Linked DNA regions of Homo sapiens: region 1 is linked to region 2. Evidence: promoter capture Hi-C in 16 types of primary human blood cells and fetal thymus (Javierre and others, 2016). All regions are on one chromosome and are shown on one strand. The core of a region is centred on a gene start or on the middle of the fragment in contact, and the rest is flanking DNA. Distances in the headings are between cores, read along the strand shown.

Region 1 (2,726 bases), core at 53-2,552, 1.0 Mb after region 2:
GTCAATGGCCGTCAGCCCAGAACAAACCTGTCAAGTCTGTTTACAGCCCCGATTGGGCTGACCTGTCACCGTGAGAGAGCTGATTCGGAAATGCTGAGAGTTGGATCGCACTCCTACCCCGCACCCCACCCGTCAAGGATCTACAAAGCAAGTAGTCGACCCGCTTAAAGAGAATGAGCATCAACACCAGTCTGGGAATTTATTGTTTTTTCATTTCCCTTAGGAAGTAGAACTACAGACGACAATTTGAGTCAAAAAATATCTAACGAGACCTAGGTTGAAGCACTGAGTTGTTTTTCAAACTTTGAGAGAATGAGAATCAATCTGCATGTGTGTTCAATAATTGTAAGTGCCTAGCAAAGTCTAAAGAGGGTTTATGCTGTATTTGAGAAAGAGTACTGTATATGTGCACATCATAGTTGCAGGCAACCTCTGAAGACTAGAAACCTCAAGAGACCTAGCGCAGAAAGCCACAGGCCATTACCTAACTCCGGGACTACTAATTAAACCTGGGATATTTACAGTGTTCTTAGAGACCTCTGAGGCTCCATAAAACTTTGCACTTATATACAGCATTTAAGATAGCTGTGCAGGAGTTAACAACCTGCTGAAGCTTCAGTGTTGATATTTATTGAAGACTGGTTTTGTGCATAGTTCTGGTCAGCTTGGGAAAGGCAAGGACCACAGTGGAAAAGGAAATGGAAAGCAACCGGAAAAGAGTAAGAGAAAGGCCTCCAGTTGATTTCCAGAGATGCAGATACTGTCCACACAGCCTAGCGTGAACTACAGATTTCATTATTGTATAAATAACCAAAGATAAGGAGTTCCTGATGTCTAGGTGTTCTACTAGATTGCATGGTAAAAACCAGAGCTGTGTTTAATTATCAATTACTGCGTGGTAGAAAAAGGGAAAATGAAGATGAACTTTTAAAAGGGGAGTAGATTAGGGAGGGGTAAAATGTCTCACATTTGTTTCTTAGATTGCTGATCTTGTCTCCAGAGTCCCTGTTATTAGCACTGCCCTTCTCTGTCCCTCCCCTGGAGCCTACCCTAAGTGACAATTAGTCTCATAGCATCTGAGAATCTCTGAAATCTGCTTTCATGGAAGCAAATGAAACAAGGGTGCATTCCTGTCCTGGTGCGACAGAATCCTCTTGGATTCCATGGCACAGAGTTACTCTGGAGCAGAGATAATCTGCATCACCAGCACTAAAGTGCTAGAATATGAGACCAGCCTCCAAGTACTTCCATCCGGCTGAAGAAAGAAAATGGGAAATGGGTTTTACTGCTTCTCTAAACATCAGGTCCCTCTACTTCTCTCTAGTGGTGAATGAAAGGATCATCAATGTTGGCAGATATTTGGCCAGCCCAACAGCAACATCAGGTGGTTATTAGGAGTTGGTGAATAAAATCCTCCTTCTGTTCCTAGTGTTAAGTTGTTTCTGAAAGAAATACTGATGCATCCTTTTCCAATTTTTTGTTTTTCTTTTCCTTTCTACCCAAATGGCTGGCCCTATCTAAACTAAAGAAAGTTTCAAAAATAGTACTTTTTTAAAGTTCAGTTGAAAATACCTGCTTGGCTGTATAGATATTACAATACACTGGTCTCCAAGCACTTCAGTTCTTTTTTTTTTTTTCTTTTTTTTTTTTTTTTTTTGAGACGGAGTCTCACAGGCTGGAGTGCAGTGGCATGATCTCGGTTCACTGCAACCTCTGCCTCCCAGGTTCAAGCAATTCCCCTGCCTCAGCCTCCCGAGTAGCTGGGACTACAGGCGCACACCATCATGCCGGGCTAATTTTTTGTAGTTTAGTAAAGACAGGGTTTCACCATGTTGGTCAGGATGGTCTCGATCTCCTGACCTCGTGATCTGCCCGCCACGGCCTCCCAAAGTGCTGGGATTACAGGCGTGAGCCACCGCGCCCGGCCATACTTAGTTCTTTACCTGTCTGGATTCAGAACCAGAATACCATAGGGAGAAGTAGAAGCTTGTAACAAAGGGACAATTATATAAAGCTTCAGGGTGACTATGTAGATTGATTAGTAAGCATGGTAAACTAGCTTTAATTATCGCTTCTAACAGCTGATTCCAAAACTCTATTGTTACTACACCAAAATAATGTCGAAAGAAAATTTCTTTCTTATTTTCTTTGATAAGCGAAATGACCAGCAACTTGATGTGGATGATATAAATACTTGATGTGCTCTTTGTAGGTCATCTGCTAAGATGTCTTTTGTGTAAACACTCTGATCTCTATAGTGCCTTTCTCATCTCCCATACGCTGACCTTTCAAAAAGGGATCTAACTCAATAGCTTTAATTTTTAAACAATCTTCTGTATTTCTGTCTGTTTAACTACTGTTTTCTAAATAATACAGAATATAAAAACATAATAATCATTGGATTGAATGTAAACCCATTGTTCCAAGGGTCTGAGGTTTTCCCCTTATTTCATTTATCCTAATAACAAACATTATTGTTCTTTCAATAAAGATAATTTTAAGACATTCTCCAAAAGGCGCTACTGTGGGTCATACAAGTAACTATATTCTAAAAGAGAATTTTCCATTATTGTCTACAAGCTTCCCATGTCCCAAATCTCTCCTGAAGCTATTTCAGATGCCATGGTGTCATCTTTCACATCTTGGTAGAGAGATGTGCTGTATGAAATCATCATTCTCAGAGAAATAAGGGTTGAGTTGGTTGCTCCTGAGAACAATAGAGCAGA
Region 2 (2,713 bases), core at 22-2,521:
GCAAGATGTTTGGAAAGCAGTGTGCTCACTGGGGCTTACTTTGAAAGCTGTCTTTTTTACTTACTACCGAACACTGATTTCCAGGAAGCAAGCCACCCCACCCCACTTCCCAGGCACTTGATTTTTTTTTTCAAACCTCTAGATTGGGTTCCGTTTCCTGAATTACTTATTCCTTACATAAATTTTCTTTTAAACTTCAGCAATTATGGCACCTTAGGCTCTGGGGGTATCAGCAGCGTGGGTTGTTTTAGAGAAAGTTCTGAAAAAAATATGTTTTGGAGACATTCCATTTCTTTGTGCATCTCACTGGGGGCTTTCAGCGAAAGCTTTAAGTTATTCAGGTGAGGGGCAATGTCTTAGTCGCTCATAAAGGGCATAAAAGTAACATCATCTGGAAAGGCATGGCACCTGCTCGGCCGGGGTAAAGGTCCGTTTTTCTAACCCTCGCCCCTCCCTCCTCCACACCGCGCCGCTAGAGACAGTGCAGTGGTCTCTCCCAAGGTCGACATCATCTCCAAGGCTGCAACCCAGGGCTGAACCAAAAAAACAGGCGCACCCACGTATAGGTCACGGCCAGAGTCCCGCCCTGCCACCAGCAGCCAGGTCTTCCTGCCTCCCTATCAAGGTGAAACTAACCCAGAGGGCCCAGCGGAGGGGCGCATACAGGCGGCGCCGATGGAGGCGGCCGATTGCATGACTGGCAGGAAGGAAGCGATCAGCCGCCAAAGTGCATTTTTTCCTCCCCTAGAGCCAGCCCGGGACCGGACGCTGCCAGCGGAAGGGCCGGCGCGCGCCAGGCCACGAGGCAGACGCACCCGCCGTGCGCACTTCCCCGTCCGGTGCGCGCTCTCACTCACGCGCGCGCGCCGCTACTCACTAGCAACCCTTGGTGTCCGCAGCCCGTGTGGGACGGCGACTGCGACGGCTGCCCCCGTGGCTGCCGTGTGGCCTTGGCATCCGTCCGGCTGCTGCAACCCGGGCCGCGGTGGCTTTTGCTGGAAGGCGTTGCAGCGGGGTGATACCGGCACCCGGCGACGAGGCGTCCGCTCGTTTGCCTCGGCCGTGCCTCCTCCCCCTTCTCCTCTGCCGACAGATGGAGCTTTGCTGGTTCCAGTCGCGCGGGCTCCGTGCGTCGTTCTCCTCCTCGCTGTCGGACACCCCAGCGCAGGGGACGAACAGCGTCCTCGCAAGCCCACGCGCAGGCCGGCCGACCCCGAACCTGCAGCAACCGTCCCTGCTGCCGCTGCTGCAGGAAAATAAATTGTCACTGCGATGGTCCCGGCCTCCCCTGCCCCGGCCCCTGGGTGCCGCCTCCGCCTCTGCCTCCGCCCCCTCCTCTGTGGCGGCGGCGGCGGCTTCCCGCATTCTGCAGAAAAAGCTCGCAGGTGGAAGGAAGCAGGGCCCCTGCGGATGGCCTAGAGCCCGAGTGAAGCGGTTGGGTGCGACTTTCGCATCTGAAACCCTGCACGTCTTCTCCCCAGACCGGAACCACCTAAACTCCCTTTTGCTCCACCATCAATTTCACCGAGATGGACAGGAGTGGTGCCTTTTAAGACTGCACAGTACACAAGCCTTGATGCAGCTGACCGTTAAACTGTCACTGGAGTCTGGGGAAGGATAGGGTTTTGGTGAAAATCCCACTTATACTTCATGTTAGGATTCCCTTTTTGATATTTATCCACAACTGGCTACGCCCACTATTAAGCATCTTAGCCCTTCCCCCTACCCCCAATTTGTGTGTACTTGGAAAATAAGAAGTATTAGAATATCTCCTGGATGTTATGTTACTATCACGTGTGGTGTTCTTACTACAGTTCTGGCACTGTGTCAGGCAGTCGGTACACAAAATCTTAGTCCATCTGCCACAACCCTGTATATAAAAGGGACTCATTTTTTGTTTTTGTTTTTGTTTTTTCCATGAACGAGAGACAGAGAAGTAAAATAATTTATCCCAGGTTACTCACCTAGAAAGCAGTAGAAGCTGAAATTTAAACTCTGATCCAACACTGAAAGCTGTTTCTATTGGCTTCACAGGTTCTATTAACTGATAAACATTTTATGGAGACTGCTGCTGCTGGATGAAATAGAGTCGCTTTTCTTGAGCTTGGTTGGGAGCTTACTTCCAAGTGAGAGAAATGGCTGCAGAGTGGGGTGGGGAAACACTGGCTTTTCTTAGTTAGCCTTTCCTCTGGAAACCAAAATTCTAGCCCTGGCTCAGCCACCAACTGAGTTATTTGGTCTCAAGCATTTCACCTTCTTAAGCCTCATCTCCCTGGATTCTTTTTTTTTTTTTAAATGAAGAGTTTGATTGTTGGAGGCAGCCTGCAGCCTTGATTTTTAAGAAGCAACAGTGTTGTTTTGCTTAGTTTTAAGTTGGTTCCAAATGTTGAAGTTAGGAAATTTCACAGAAATTCAGACTTTTCACATTTTCTGTAAAATCGTAACATCAGACATTTGGTCCATGGCGAGTTCTAGCAACCATCAGCTGAAGCTGAATAGCAGGTGTCGCCTTTAGACTGTGAAGACACTCTTCAGTTTTCCACAGTCCCCACCACTCCCATACACCCCCACCTCACTGACATTTGAGAATATGGTAGGCATTTGAGTTTGCAGTATTGAACCAGATAATCTCATGACCTACTGGACAATTTAAAATTCAGTGGTAATTAAGAAGGTTAGCCAGATTCCTAAAAAGCATTATGAAACAAAAAAT

Evidence for each region. The method cuts DNA at HindIII sites, captures the fragments that hold promoters and counts their contacts. A CHiCAGO score of 5 or more calls a contact.
Region 1: a fragment that was not itself captured here is called in contact with the fragment with the promoter of STAMBPL1 in region 2 in 1 of 17 cell types (fetal thymus); the score reaches 6.1 in fetal thymus.

Annotation. Positions count from the first base shown.
Region 1 is chr10:87,858,947-87,861,672 of GRCh38, reverse strand. It overlaps KLLN (killin, p53 regulated DNA replication inhibitor), which reads left to right. Exons shown (of 1, transcript NM_001126049.2): 1 at 1-2,515. Among named protein-coding and RNA genes, the nearest start is that of KLLN, 3.2 kb to the left of the region's middle. The HindIII fragment of the contact is 1,373 bases long and covers 616-1,988 here.
Region 2 is chr10:88,878,803-88,881,515 of GRCh38, reverse strand. It overlaps STAMBPL1 (STAM binding protein like 1), which reads right to left and starts at 1,271. Exons shown (of 11, transcript NM_020799.4): 1 at 878-1,271. LOC124902551 reads left to right here and starts at 852. Exons shown (of 1, transcript XM_047426134.1): 1 at 852-1,782. The coding sequence starts at 1,094. The coding sequence ends at 1,621. RefSeq lists an enhancer at 563-672 and a silencer at 1,253-1,382. The HindIII fragment of the contact is 2,730 bases long and covers 329-2,713 here.